2 separate regions of the Homo sapiens genome follow, and region 1 is linked to region 2. The links are contacts of gene promoters, found by promoter capture Hi-C in blood cells and fetal thymus (Javierre and others, 2016). All regions are on one chromosome and are shown on one strand. Each heading gives the region's core, a stretch centred on a gene start or on the middle of the fragment in contact. The rest is flanking DNA. Distances are from core to core; before and after follow the strand shown. Region 1 overlaps RMND5A (required for meiotic nuclear division 5 homolog A). Region 2 holds the start of KDM3A (lysine demethylase 3A).

Evidence for each region. The method cuts DNA at HindIII sites, captures the fragments that hold promoters and counts their contacts. A CHiCAGO score of 5 or more calls a contact.
Region 1: a contact is called between a fragment that was not itself captured here and the fragment with the promoter of KDM3A in region 2, in 7 of 17 cell types (endothelial precursors, erythroblasts, M1 macrophages and 4 more). The highest score is 9.9, in endothelial precursors.

Annotation. Positions count from the first base shown.
Region 1 is chr2:86,746,237-86,753,668 of GRCh38, reverse strand. RMND5A (required for meiotic nuclear division 5 homolog A) reads right to left here. Exons shown (of 9, transcript NM_022780.4): 3 at 1,639-1,773; 4 at 111-211. Among named protein-coding and RNA genes, the nearest start is that of RNF103-CHMP3, 29 kb to the right of the region's middle. The HindIII fragment of the contact is 2,164 bases long and covers 3,486-5,649 here.
Region 2 is chr2:86,436,392-86,443,353 of GRCh38, reverse strand. It overlaps KDM3A (lysine demethylase 3A), which reads right to left and starts at 1,983. Exons shown (of 26, transcript NM_018433.6): 1 at 1,910-1,983; 2 at 1,121-1,336. The coding sequence starts at 1,306. RefSeq lists enhancers at 1,140-1,199, 2,190-2,269, 2,350-2,549, 2,371-2,914 and silencers at 1,400-1,449, 1,670-2,059. The HindIII fragment of the contact is 3,261 bases long and covers 190-3,450 here.

The DNA of each region.
Region 1 (7,432 bases), core at 3,318-5,817, 310 kb before region 2:
TCTACCACAGGTAAGATAAATATATCTAAAAATCTCTAATGTGTTTTCTGATTGAGTTTTCTTACAGAGAGTTCTCAAAGTACTCAAAAGAAAGCAAACTCAATACTCACTCCAGAGCAGGTCTCAGAACTCTGACCTTTAATGCCTCTAATATTCTATTTAACTCCACAAATGGTTCCTTCTGACTTGGGTCTACAGAAAGACCAGATTCCTGGAAAAAGAAAGAAAGAAAGAACTTTTGTTAGCAGTAATCAGGGTAAGGAGCTAGTGGTAAAAGTATATTCTAGATTGTAAAATATGGGGCAAGCCATTAAAGATAATTCCCTATAGTAGAGACTGATGACTGCCCCCTAGTACATTCTTCCCCTCTTTTCCATAGTAGAATCCCCAAATTTCAGCAGGGTACATAAGCAAATGGAATAAAGCTGGGTATGGCTTTGTAAGACGTTAAGTTCTGACCAATGAAACATAAATATGCACTCTGCCCCTTTCTGGGATACAAAGGTATGGCTGGAGCTTTGGCTGCTATCCTGGACTCTGAAGACAGGAGACACCCTGGGAATAACAGAGGTACAAGGTGCTAAGTCCCTAAGAGTTTCACAATGCAGAGCTACCAAACATGCTGTGGACGTCTTACTACCGATTTCTGTGCAAGAAAAAAATTTCACTTTTGCTTAAGCCACTGTAATTGTGGGTCTTTTGTTACTTAAAAGCAAACAATCCTCAATGACAGTTTACTGCAGGAAATTACATGGACACATACACAAAATCCCTGTAAGGTACAGAGAAAAACCGAGTTATCATTTATCTGAATTGTTTAAAATAGAAAAGGCTTAGATTAGAGGTTTGGTTTACAGACTGATTTTAAACTAATTCTTTCGGTCCTTCATGTTTCCAAACAAAAATGCAACAGCACATGGTGGCTTAGAACGGAGTGTGAAGACATATGAATCAGGGACTGAATCCCAGTTCTTTCACAAAGAACCTGTTAAGGCCTCGGGCAACTTACTTCTCCAGACCTTAGATTTTTCATCTGTAGAATGGAAACAATAATTTTTACTTCATGGGATTGCAGCAAGGAATAAAGGCAGGGCTTGGCTTAAGGTAAGCACTCAATATATGGCAGCTACTACTATTATGACTACATGGTATTGGTAAACTGTTGTAGAGTTCTAACTCATGTGTGATAGAAATAAAAGACAAATGCTGCTAATGCGAAGTAAAAAATTTTAGCTGGAAATTCATTTGATAAAATCGTTTAAGCTGGGCTAGAACAGAAGAACAAACATCAATGTTTTTGTCCCTTTCCTCTTGTCTGCTATACTAACCTTCTATATCAAAAATGGACATGAAGAAAGAATATCGCTTTTGCGCCCTTTGATTCATGAACTGGGACTAACCTTCTGGGACAGGAACAAGAAAAAAATGATCTGGATAACAAGTTCTAGAACTATAATTTTTGCCACTTAAAAAATTCCCCAAAATACTCCTAGTAAAATGAGGTCATCTCTGATAATTTAAATATTAAAAATCTATCTATAGCTAGAGGAAGACTCAAAACCCCACCCTGCAAATACTATAAACTCCAAGGAGTTCCCTTGTTTCTTTTTCATATCCTCCCAGTTGGCACACTGTTACCTGACAGAGCTCCTCAGCCACATCCAGCATTCCTTGTCGAAAGAAGTGCTCCACCATCACCTCATTGAGAAGCCTTTGGCTGTCTGCCTGCCAGCAGCCATCTATTCCCACACTGCTAATGTCAGAATCAAAATTCTGGGGAAAAGAAAGAGAAAGGGAATCATAAATAGATTATTTTCACCCCACTTAACAGGAAAAAAATGGTCTTTGTTTCAGTCTGAGATACCCCAATAAGAACCCAACTGCAATTTATAGCGTCCCAAAGGAAGGAATTTTTCCACTGCTCCTTTCTAAAACTTGTCATGCTAGAAGAGTAAATAGGTATATTTTTAGATAATGTTTTTTTAAAGTAGATTTAATAATGGTGTCCATGAATAAAATAAAATCAAGCGAATGAACTGATTTCTAGGCATTATATGCAGCAATATTTTTAGAGGAATGCAATGATGACCTGTAAAAGCATGCCCACTGCAGCACTGTCTATAATGGGAGGGGAAAAAAGGAGAAAACACATATGCCTATCAACATAATAATCCATGGCACATCCCAACAACTGCAGTATTGAGGCTGAAAGTGGTTGTGGGGGCATGGCCAACTAGTTAAGAGAGTGGTTTATCTACACCTCTGGGTTTGCCTTTGAGCTATACATGCATGGTCCTGACTCTAAACAGCATACTACAGATTTTGAAAACTGAACTAGGGAATAGACCTAATTCCTAGGTCCCATATTGGCTACCAGGTGTTACACACACAGGACAAATCTAAATAACTGTAATGGCTTTAGAAACAAAACTAACACTGAAACTACAACCCAGAAAAGACTGGTTAGAACTTGTGGCCTGAATCCAACAAGGTTGATTGCCTGCTAAAACAAAAATACCAACACTCTCCACAGAACTTAAACAAGACCCAGAGTACTATAATACATATTCAAAATGTTCAAGATACTGCAAAATTACTTGGCATACAAAGAACCAAGAAAATCTCAACTCACATGGAAAAAGATGATCAACAGACACCAATGCCAACATGACAGAGATGCTGGAACCATCCAAAACTTTAGGGCAGTTATTATAAAAATACAAACAATCTTGAAACAAAGGGAGAGACTTAGCAAGGAAAAAGCTGATAGAGTAACCAAAATAAAAAATTCATTGGATGAATTTTTCAACAGCAGAAGCAAAGTGGCAGTGCAAAAAGTCAGTGAAAATCAATAGAATTCATCCAATCTGAACACCAGTTTAAAAAAAAAAAAAAAACAGAGCCTCAGGGACCTGTGGGAAAATTACAAAAGCTCTAACGTGTGTGTCATCGGAATACTAGGAGAAGAGAAACAGTATGGTACAGAAAAAAATAGTTGAAGAGTATTTCCCAAGTTTAGCAAAAGACATAAATCTCAGATTCTAGAAGGTCAGTGAACTCCAACATGGACAAATTCAAAGAAATCTGACCCAAACATCTCACATTCAAACTGTTAAAACTAAAGATAAAGCAAAAAATCTTGCAGGCAGCCAGAGAAAAGTGACATGTTACTTACAGGGGAACCATGATTCAAATGACTACAGATTTCTCAACAGAAACTATGGAGGCCAGAAAGAAGTGGCATGACATTTGTCAAGTACTGAAAGAAAATAACTGTCATCCTAGAATTCTATATCCAGTGAAAATATCCTTCAGGAATGAAGATGAAATAAAGACATTCTCAGACGGAGGGAAACTGAATTTACTGCCATCAGACTTGCTCTAAAAGTATTGCTAAAGTCTTCAGACAGAAGAAAATGACACCAGAAGGAACATGAAACATCAAGAGTGAAAGAAGAGCAAACGTACATCACAGTGTGAAAGCTTTCCCAGCCTAATTCCACTTCAGCACCCTTTATCTTTCATAGGCATTGCTCCCTAATAAATGTTTTGCATTTCTTTTTAAAAATATATAAACTTAACTAGACAAGGCCATTTAGATTTAACTAAAATTGCAATCCTAGTCAACCACTGCTTAAATATACAGTCCAACCAATATGGGATTATTTTACATGATGTACAAGAACAGGTAGTAAGTAACCAGCAACAGCAACTGCAAACAACCCACTATTTACAATCACAATGCAGGAGTGCTTTTCTCCAAAATTAAGCACATTTTTCTCCCTATAAACAGCTATCTACCCTATCTCTAGATGTGAAAACAGTAGCCTAAAACTGAATACATACATTAAGGTTTGGAATCACTCAAGACAAAACAAACACAAAAAACCAAGAATATTGTCAGTCTTAATTTTTATTCATTTCCTTTTCACAGACATTTTTCTTAGCCAAGTATTTAACCTAAAGAATAGAAATAACGGGGTGGGCATGATGGCTCACTCCTGTAATCCCAGCACTTTGGGAGGCCGAGGTGGGAGGATCACCTGAAGTCAGGAGTTCAAGACCAACCTGGCCAACATGGTGAAACCTCGTCTCTACTAAAAATACAAAATTAGCTGGGCGTGGTGGTGGGTGCCTGTGATCCCATCTACTTGGGAGGCTGAGGAAGGAGAATCGCTTGAACCCAGGGAGGCAGAGGTTGCAGTGAGCCGAGATCACGCCATTGCACTCCAGCCTGAGAGACAGAGCAAGACTCCATCTCAAAAAAAAAAAGAAAGAAAAAGAAATAATACAAAGTACCTAGATGCTAAAGCAAGAGCATCCATGCATATAATGAAAAAACTGTTAACTAGCACTGAAGAACCACAACTGCTTGTATAAGATTATGTTTAATTTCTATTTATCAGATTCTGCCTGTTGAGAGCTAATTTTATAACAGTTCATCAGTATTTTTAAGTAAATTATTTTATCTTTATGCTGTCTATGACAACTACAACACCGGAGATGGTACTGCTTTCTGTCTCTTCTGGAGTAGAGCTCAGAGGCTGATCAACGCTGTTCTCTCCCAAATTCCACTTCCCAAAGGGCCATTCAAATGCATAAAGGAATGGGTTTCTAAAGATCTGAAGATGAGTTTATTACAAACTCAGGAACCTGCCCATAACTCTCTAAATGTCTAAATGCACAGTATAAGGAAAGAATAGAGAGATGAATTAAGAAAGTTCTCTCACTAACTTATCAACTGCATTAAATCCAAATACAACCTTCAGGTTTCTACTTATTCATTTAATGATTTTTCCCCAAACAACAAATTTATTAGTACCTATTCCTTAGGGAAAAATAAAACAACGCTGGAAGACACGCTGGTCAGCTCAAAGCACAGATCATGTTGAAACAATTTTATCCGGTAATATATATATTAGGTCAGAATTTTAATAAGCTACCATCTGACAGTACTTGCTCAGATCAAACAAAATAATCCCTTCAATTCTTTCCTTAATATACATATTAAAAGTAAATATTCATCAACTAGAAAATTACAAAAAGAGTCTAATATTTAAACAATTTTCTTTGGGTTTGCTACAAAGTTTTACAACAATGCCCTATGTGTATCTCTATTTTCTTAAGGCTTACTATGGTCACTACTACATAGGTAAGAAAAGTCAAACACCCTTACACTCAAAATCTAACTACATTCAAGCTCGTAACTTATTTGCTGCTCTTGGAAAAGAAGCATGAATAAGCAATGCATTCGATTGTTTTCTGGACACTTCTGAGCTCCCTTCTACCATTCTGATTTTCCAGTATAAACTACTGAGGTAGATAAGTAAACTTCCATAGCTTATTTTCTGGTCACATGCATTAAAAATTAAAGCTAAGATTATAAAATATATAGAGGTTGAGGAAATGCAATACACTGTCAAACTCCTTTTGTTATAACTGCAGGTTCTTACTCACTGTTGCATCAGAGCTAGCATTAGTTCCAGCTTCTGTTGCTAGGTAACCAAGCTCATTTGCATGGCTGTCCAGAAAATCCACAGCACTGCAAACCAGCCAAGAGGTGGCTAATGAAGAGAAATACCATCTATAATTAACATCTTCTGTCTTACTATACTTTTTCTTTTCATATTTTTTAAGCAAAGAAAAGCTTTGGCATCCTGTTCTTAATTGGGAAGAAAGGATCCAAACAAGAACCAAAAGCAAAAAAGCACACATCCAAGGGTGTGTCCATCCGGAGAGGATGTTCTGACTTGGAAGGAGAAATCCAGGACATACTAAATCTAGAAGCTGAGGCAGAAGAGGAGTAAATAACTTTGATACAACATCATTATGAAAGTGTGCGATCTAAACAGGCCGTATCATGCCGTATCATGAATACACAAATCAGTCGGAAATGGCTTTCACTGTTTACCGTCAAAAACCCATCCGTTTCTCAAATATATTTTATAAAATTATAATGACTGAGCAGACAGTGGTCACAATATATATAAAACTCAGTATTTAATTCCTAAGTACCAATTCCCTAATAGTATTAACATGTATTTTGAAACTTCTCCATCTACTTTGAAGAAAAATTAGTGTATGAACCAACAAAATGTGCTATTGTTGCACCTACCAGGAATTAATTTCCCTTTTAAGCATCCAGTTAATCTGGTTTAGCAGTGAGAGGCAGACAGCAAAGGATACTTAACAGAGTAAGAAGACCTGGATTCTGGTTCTCCTCAGACTAACAGACGATAGCTACTTCGCATACAAACCACACAAGATTAGTATTCAGAAGAGTTTGAAACAAACACACACCTCTCAATAAGAAAGATAACTTAACAGAAAAAATGGACAGAACATGAAATGCACAAATGGGAAATTCCTAATGTTAAACATGAGAAGATGCCCCACCTTCAAGATGGTCAAAGAAAGGCAAAATTAGTACAACTAGATACTACTTCACACCCATCTGATTAATCTTTAAACATTTGAAGTCTGATAATACCAGGTATAGGTGAGAAATGAGGAAGCAGGAAGTGTTATAGGTGTTTGGTAGGGCTGTAAATTGGTATAAACCCTTCAGGGGAAAATTTTACAATACCTAGTAAAGCTGATAATGAGGCACCTGTCCTATGATGAAATAATCCATATTTAGGCATATACCAGATAGCAGTGCTTTACAAACCAAGGGCTGGAAAATAAACTTGGTAGTGTGTCATAATCAGCATTTTGTAGATGCATTTTTTGATGTAGACATTCCATATTCTCCTTACGGTATTTATACCTCTTCTTTGGTTATCAACATTAAGAGAAAGGTAGATTCACACTGTTATGTTATTGCTTTATTTAAAAAATGAGGGAGTAACGTGCCAAACCACTCTGCCAGGCCTTTCTGTCACATTTGCATCCCTATCCCTCCACTATTAGTTATCTGCCTTTCTGTGGCTATTTTATTAATTCTTCCAAGGATGATATGTATCTCTTACCATTCTATGGAAAGGAGAGAAATTCATATGTAGAGTGGGTGCCCTCAGGGCACTAGAGATGAATTCTCTCAAGGAACTCCAGTTGAGAAAGGTTCCTCCAAGTCTTAAAATCTGGGTTTTAATCCCAACTCTGTGACTTCAGGCAGGTTACTTACAAATCTAAGTTTTCACATCTGTATCTAGAGACAATAATCTCGACCTTACAAGTCTTTGGTGAAGATAAAGGTAAATAATGTACATGAAAACCTCTATGAGTATCCATCCATCAGTAAACCTTTAATACACAGTAGCTGAATCTGAGAGCCAGGCCAAACCTAACCAAAGCTGAATCTGAGGGCCAGGTTGCCACCAAACCTTCTGCTTCTGTATTTAAAAGAATCCTTATTAGAAAATATAAACAAAAACAAATACACGAAAGCATGCAGAGATATTAATATTCATTAATTTAAAAGCACTTAAAT
Region 2 (6,962 bases), core at 734-3,233:
CATACACTGTCACCCTGAAAGTGTTCAAATGAACAGTGTTTCAGAAATCAACATATAATCAACTGCCAATGCTAAAACTTGCTGCCTTTATTTGAACATAGTTTAAGAAAAAGCAAAGATGATGGCCAAGTGAAGATTCTGAAACACATCTACTAGGCAGGGTGGAAATATCTTCTGTTCTGACAAGCTTCCTTCAAGTTATCACCACTTTGGAGTCTTTGTTAGGAACCTTTTTTCAGTTATTTTCGCACAAAGGAGTCTTTGTTGGTACAATGGCTTCCTCACTGCTTGTTCCCAGACAATCCTTTCACATCAATACTTCTATTAGGGAGCACAATCAGAATTCATCTGTCTTTGAAAAGATCTAACAGAAAAAGGTTCTGAGTGTCATAATGATTTAAAAAAAAATCACTGGCCGCACTTGTTCCCAATTCTCTCCCTCCCCTCATGCGTCCAAGTGCAGTATTTCTAAGCCAGTCCTCCAATATGCCATATATGGGACAGCTCCACCCCATCCCTCCATATATGGTCATATCCCACACCCACCCACCGGCTCATCACAGACAACCAGGAACCCACTCCTGCCCTGACCCACCATATACGGACAAACACCCATCCTAATACGCCAAACAGAACTTAAGCTCCTCCCTCTACACTCACTTCATTTTTAACAAGTCTGAAAGTTTTTTTAAAAGTTGAGTGAATAAATTAACAGGAACAAACAAACAAAACCAGCTGAAAGTACTTCCAAGCACTAACCTTCAATTCTTAATGACTCCAAACGTCACTTACAGGCCCTACCTAACGCTAACAAAAATACTCCTCCTCCTCTGCAGTAAAGATGAGACAGTCCTGGTGGGACACAGCACCGGCATTAATGAAGCGTGTCTGAACAACCCTAAGCCCATTATTAAAGCCAGGCAGCCAGGAGCTGTGGGCCAAACACAACTCGGCTCTATACAACCATTCCAAAGACTTTCAAGATCTAGCTTCCTGCACCTTCAGATCATATGCCAACTTTCTGGTCTCCGTTTTCAGAAAACGGAAGGAGGGAACCGATGGTCGCGTTACCACGGTAACTGCGAAACGTCCGGTGGCAGAGGCCCGGAGCCGCCTGTACCTTCAGATCCTTCTTGGTAACGTCGGTGTGGGAAACAGCTCGAATGGTCCCGGAGAGCCAGGGCCACTCGGCGACGCGCTCCACGTCCCAGCTGTCGTGGCTGCCATCGCTGCCGTCGGCTGCGGACAGACTGAGAAACCTCCTCCCCACCAATACCGGCCAACTTTCTCCGAGCGTGAGCACCATGGTTTCCACGCCTGCAGGAAGAGCTCCTCCCTGCAAAAACACAAAAACAAAATGCGACGGGGGCGGCCGGTGGGAGGGGGCCGGGCGGAGACAGCAGGGAGGGCGGGCGGAGGGCGCCGAACCCGCGCGAGGACGCGGCCCCGGGCGGACCCGCACCGAGCCCCCCTCCTGCGCCCTCCCGCCCCCCGCCGCCCTCCCCCGCCACACACCCGGGCCCCAGCGCCGCGTGACCCTCGCTCTCCCAAGTTTGGCTTTTCTAACAGCTCAAACGCAACCGCAGAGGGAGTGAGGGAAAAATTATCTGCGGCTCGAGTGGATTTGAAAGTGCTCAGCCCCCAGCCCCGAAAAGAAAAGGCCCCTGGTGCAGAGAGCCGGTCCCGGGCGGCTGGGTCCCCGCCCCGGGCGGCCCCACGGGGGAGGGTGGGCGAGCCCGCGATTCCGCACTTGCCCCGCCGCCCCGCCCCGGCGCCCAGCTCCCCGGCCCCGAACCCCGGGCGCCCGTCTCCCGGGCCTGCGCCGCTGCCAACGGGCGACGGGGCCGCGCGCTCGGCGCTTTCACCTTTCTCTCCCCTCTCCCCGCAGCCGAGGCCGCGGCGCTCTTACCCCGCCTCCCGCCTCCCTGAGTCACCGGCGGCAGCCGCCGTTTCCAGCCGCCTAGCCGACTCCAGCGCTGACTTGGTTCAAGAGCTCTCACAAGACACGCACAGCCTCCCGGACCCGCCCCCCTCGGAGCCGCTTCCGCCGCTCATTGGCTGAAACACAGGAGCTGGGCGAGGCTCCGGGGGAAACAGATCATCACCATTGGCCCCCCGGGCGAGGGCGGGGCCAGAGAAAAAAACAATTCCTTGGCTGCCTCCTCCCTTTCCCCTCCCCCTTCCGACTCCCGGGCGACCCCCATTAGGTTAAAGTACACAGAGAATAAGCGAGTGATCCCTCCGCCATAGGCCTATTCTTTCCATTTGTTGCCTCACAGTATGCAAAAAAAAAGTCCCGCGAAATCGGTTATCAACTTTGGGGCCCGGAGGAAAATTGCTGTGGCGCATAGATAAGACTGAATGGCGAGACCCTGAGCTATAAGTGCCTACTGGATTGTTCTTCAACCGCGTAGGCTGTCGACCGAAGATGAGCCTTCCACTTGGCGGAAGAATCTCACAGGAAAGGGTGAGGGCGGTGCAGGGTTAGCGGGGGAGGGCAGGGAAGAGAACGTGCGGTTTCAGGCGTACTCAGCTAGAGGGAGGAGCGATAGTGCTCTGGAGGCTCGTGCGCAGGCGCCTCGCCGAGCTTAGGCTGCTGGGCGAAATGGCTGCGGGAGGCGCAGGCGCACGTGGTACTGATCGTGGAACGTCTAAAGTCCGCCATTTTGAAGGATAAATGAAGAAAGGCGTGGAGTTACTGGATAATGACGTTCATTAAATTTAGAGCAAAAGAGACCTTTAAATACAATGTATAATGAGATTTTTTTTTCTCCAAAGTGGGATTGAGAAGGTATTCAGATACTTACAAAGAAATTTAAAGTAGTTGAAGGCCATAATGAATGATGGAAGAGATGAAAGAGAAGGTGACTTTGAAGGACAAAGGAGTTTAGAGGTGATTGTGTGCTCTGGACCTGAAGTATTTTGATTGAATGAAAAAGAAATGGAATGAAGAAATTGAAGATATGTTCATAAAGGCTAGTGTTTGACATTACATCACATTTAATCCTTAAGAAGAACTCATGCCTCCCATTTTACAAGCGTGGAAACGTATAATCAGAGAATGTTTGGAAACATATAAGGGATTATAGATGCAAATCAACTCTGGATGTTGATTTTCAATATACATATTCTGAATGTGATTTTAAGTTTTTAAAGTTAGTAACAAGAATTAAATTGGATTTATAATCTGTAGACCATTTAAAGGAAGGGGGCTGCTAAATGAGAAGAAAAAACCTATCCAGCTGAAAGAAGGCAGAAATGGGAACGAGATAAGCAAAAGAAACCAGAACATATGGTAAAAATGTTTTTCATGTGAAAAGTCCAAACATCAGTATTTACAATAAATGTAAATGGGTTAATTTCACTCACAAGTTTTAAAAGACAGTTGGGAATAAAAGGACAATCCAGCTATAAATTGACCATAAGCAAATGCTTACAAAACAGGAAGCTTGAAAATACTGGGCTAAAATATTTAATCAAATGGTAGCCAAATGAAAGCAGTATAGCAATATTAATACAATTAAAAGTATCAAAAGAGAAAGGATTTTATATTAAAGATAAAGTCCATGAAGACAGTATGGTCTCCTGAACTGTTATGAATCTAAAAACATGGCCTATCCTAAGGTGACGCTATGAACGATGAGAAATTTTACAAATTTGACAATTTGTTTTCAGAGTAGAAGACATAAATATCTCAGAAATATGCAACTCAAATGTAAAATATAAGGGAAGATATGGAGAACTTAGATTATGTAATTAAATATTAATTTGAAAAACAACTCAAGGGAAAAATTCTATTGAACCTGAAGGAACATATACTTTCTATGTTGAATTCATTATTTCAGAGCTTAGAAAAGATGGAAAGATATCCAATGCATTTTATAAAAGTTATAAAACCGTTTCACAAATTCTGAACTGGGCGAGTATAAGAAAGAAAAACTATGGTTCAATTATACTTAGGAACATAGATGGGAAATTCTTTTATAAAATACCAGCAAATTAAATCCAGCAGCATTTTTTTTAGGTAATTGATATGATTAATTAGTGTTATATGAATGCAAAGATACTTCAAGATTAGAAAATTACTAAAATTCACCATGACAGGTTAAAAAAGAAAAATCGTATATTCACCTTAGGGCTAAATAGAGCATGCAGTCACATTGAACACTTGTGATCTTAAGAGTATTTTTAAATTACATAGAAAACTAAGAAGATTATAAGTGTACACTTATATTCAATACCACCCATAATTTTTAAAAAATGTTTTTAAACTTTCTAAAAACCTAGGAATATAAGTTACGTACCACAGAAAAACACCCACACACATATGAACGAAAAAACATCTGCAAATAACCTAAGTGTACTCCAGTTGGAGAAGGAATAAATAAAATTATTAACAATAAATGGAATGTAATGCATATATTGGAAAGTTGTAGAGGATTTGTAAAGGAGTCAAAGCAGCTAGATGTTCCAATAAAAATAGTTACCAAAATACATTATGAATGAAAAAGAAATTTGCATTTGGTACTATTTCAAAATACACATACAAAAACAACAGTATATATGTTCTGTTAAATATGGTTATTAAAACTTACAGTAATGGTTACTGGTATTAGGGGGTGCACACTAGAATTAGGGGTATTAGTCAAAGACAACACATATTATTTGTAATTCTAATTTTTTATAAATACACTTTTTTTGTATTTACATTTTTATCACCTTATTTTTAATTGACAGGTAAAACTATATGGTGTACAATATGATGTTTTGGTATAGATATACATTGTGGAATGGCTATATCAAATTATTTTACATATGCATTCCCTCACATACTCATCTTTTTTTGTGTGGTGAGAACACTTAAAATCCACTCTTAGCAATTTTCAAATATACAATATATTGTCATTAACTGTAGTCACCATGATGTACATTAGATCATTTGAACTTATTCCTCCTGTCTAACTGAAATTTTGTGTCCTTTGACCAACATCTACCCAATCTCCCCACTCCCTGTAATTCTCTCATTTTATAAGGTAAATGTACTCACATGTTACTTTTAAAATTTAATTTTTAACTCTCATTAATGGAATCTGCTACATTAACAAATTAAAGGAGAAAATACATATGATTATCTCAATAGATACACCAAAAATTTTATATACTTCATTTTCATTCATTATAAAAACTCTTAGCAAACTATCAAGAAAAGAAAATTTTATAACTCTATAAAGGATATCTACCAGAAATATACTTAAACATTGTACTTAATTGTGAAATTTTAGAAAAATTCCCAATAAAGTCAGGAGCAAGATAAGGATGCCCAATGCTGTCATTACTATTCAAGTTACAATAGAGGTTAATTGCTAATGTAATAAGACAAGAAAAATAATACAATGTAAACATTGGAATGGAAGAAAAAGCCCAAAACATTTGTAGATAAATCAAAAGCATCAGTGACAAATTATTAGAATTAAAACAAGAATCAAAAAGATAATGCAATAAAAGATCAACAAACGAAAATCAAAAGAATTCCTATTCCTTAGCAAGCATCAATTAGAACATACAGTAGAAAAATAAAAACCATTAATGATAATAAAACATGTAATCCCTAAAAATTAATACATGAAATGAACACAACCTATATGAAGAAAATTAGACTTTGCTGACATGTATAAAGAAGATGAAAAATTCTGTCTCTTGATATGATCTGATAAATATGTCATTTCTCCTCTAACAAAACAACAAATAAAAACATCAAGACATAAATATATAAGTAATGAAGAGAACAAAGAAACAGACCCAGTGTATATTAAAAATTAGTTTGTGATCGACATATTTCTAGTGGGTGTAAAGAATAAACTATGCAATACATGCTTTGAGGTCTATTGATTATCCATTAAAAATGTATATATAAGCCGGGCGCAGTGACTTATGCCTGTAATCCCAGCATTTTGGGAAGCTGAGGTGGCAGATCACTTCAGGTCAGGAGTTTGAGACCAGCCTGGCCAACATGGTGAGACCTCATCGCTACTGTAAAAATTAGCTGGCTGTTGTGGTGCACATCCACAATCCCAGCTACTCGGGAGGCTGAGACAGAAGAATCACTTGAACCTTAAACCCAGGAAGCAGAGGTTGCAGTGAGCTGAGATCACGCCACTGCACTCCAGCCTGGATGACGAAGCAAGACTCTGTCTCAAAAAAAAAAAGTATATAATGTATATATAACCAAGATTCCTACACCAACATTCACGAAAATAAGTTCCAGGTAGATCAAAATGCTACATATTTTAAAATCCAATAAAATATTTTAAAATTCCCTCCTCTCTTCTACTTTTTTCTCTTTCCTTTCCTCTTTCTAAACATTTCAGTCTTGAGGCCATTAGGAGGGGCAGAGCAAGATAGGTGTTAATAAGGAGAGGCTGTCAGCCATGGGATGTTAGAGCTCTAAAGAGTAAGGAGTAATAGCCGGGCATAGACAGTCAGAGCCCAAGTGGGGTGAGAAGGGTAGACACACAAAAGGTTAACCTAGCCTGGGTTATCTAGAGTCCAAGTGAGGTGAGGAGGGCATCCATGAATGGGGGCAGCCTAGTGTGGTATGTTGGAGCCCAAACAGAGTGAAGAGACTGTTTACATGAGAAGAAAGCCTGGCATGAGTAACAGAGCCTGAGGAGGGGGAGGAGAGTGTGTAGGAGAGTGATTTGACATGGATGTCAGACCCCAAGGAGGGTGAGGAGGGCATTCATGTAGGGACCAGCAGTGGGCACTGAAAAGACCAAGAGATCTCTTAGAAGCAGCAGGAGAACCAGGTGAGAGGTACATTCTGGAAGCAAGCCAAAAAGAGTTTCAACTTGGAAGACCATGCAGTAAGGTCAAAGGATACACTGAGGTGAAGACAGATGGAGGACTGAGCAGCAGGATATTGAAACTGCCAACAAATATATTTTAGCCACTGGGTATTGCCA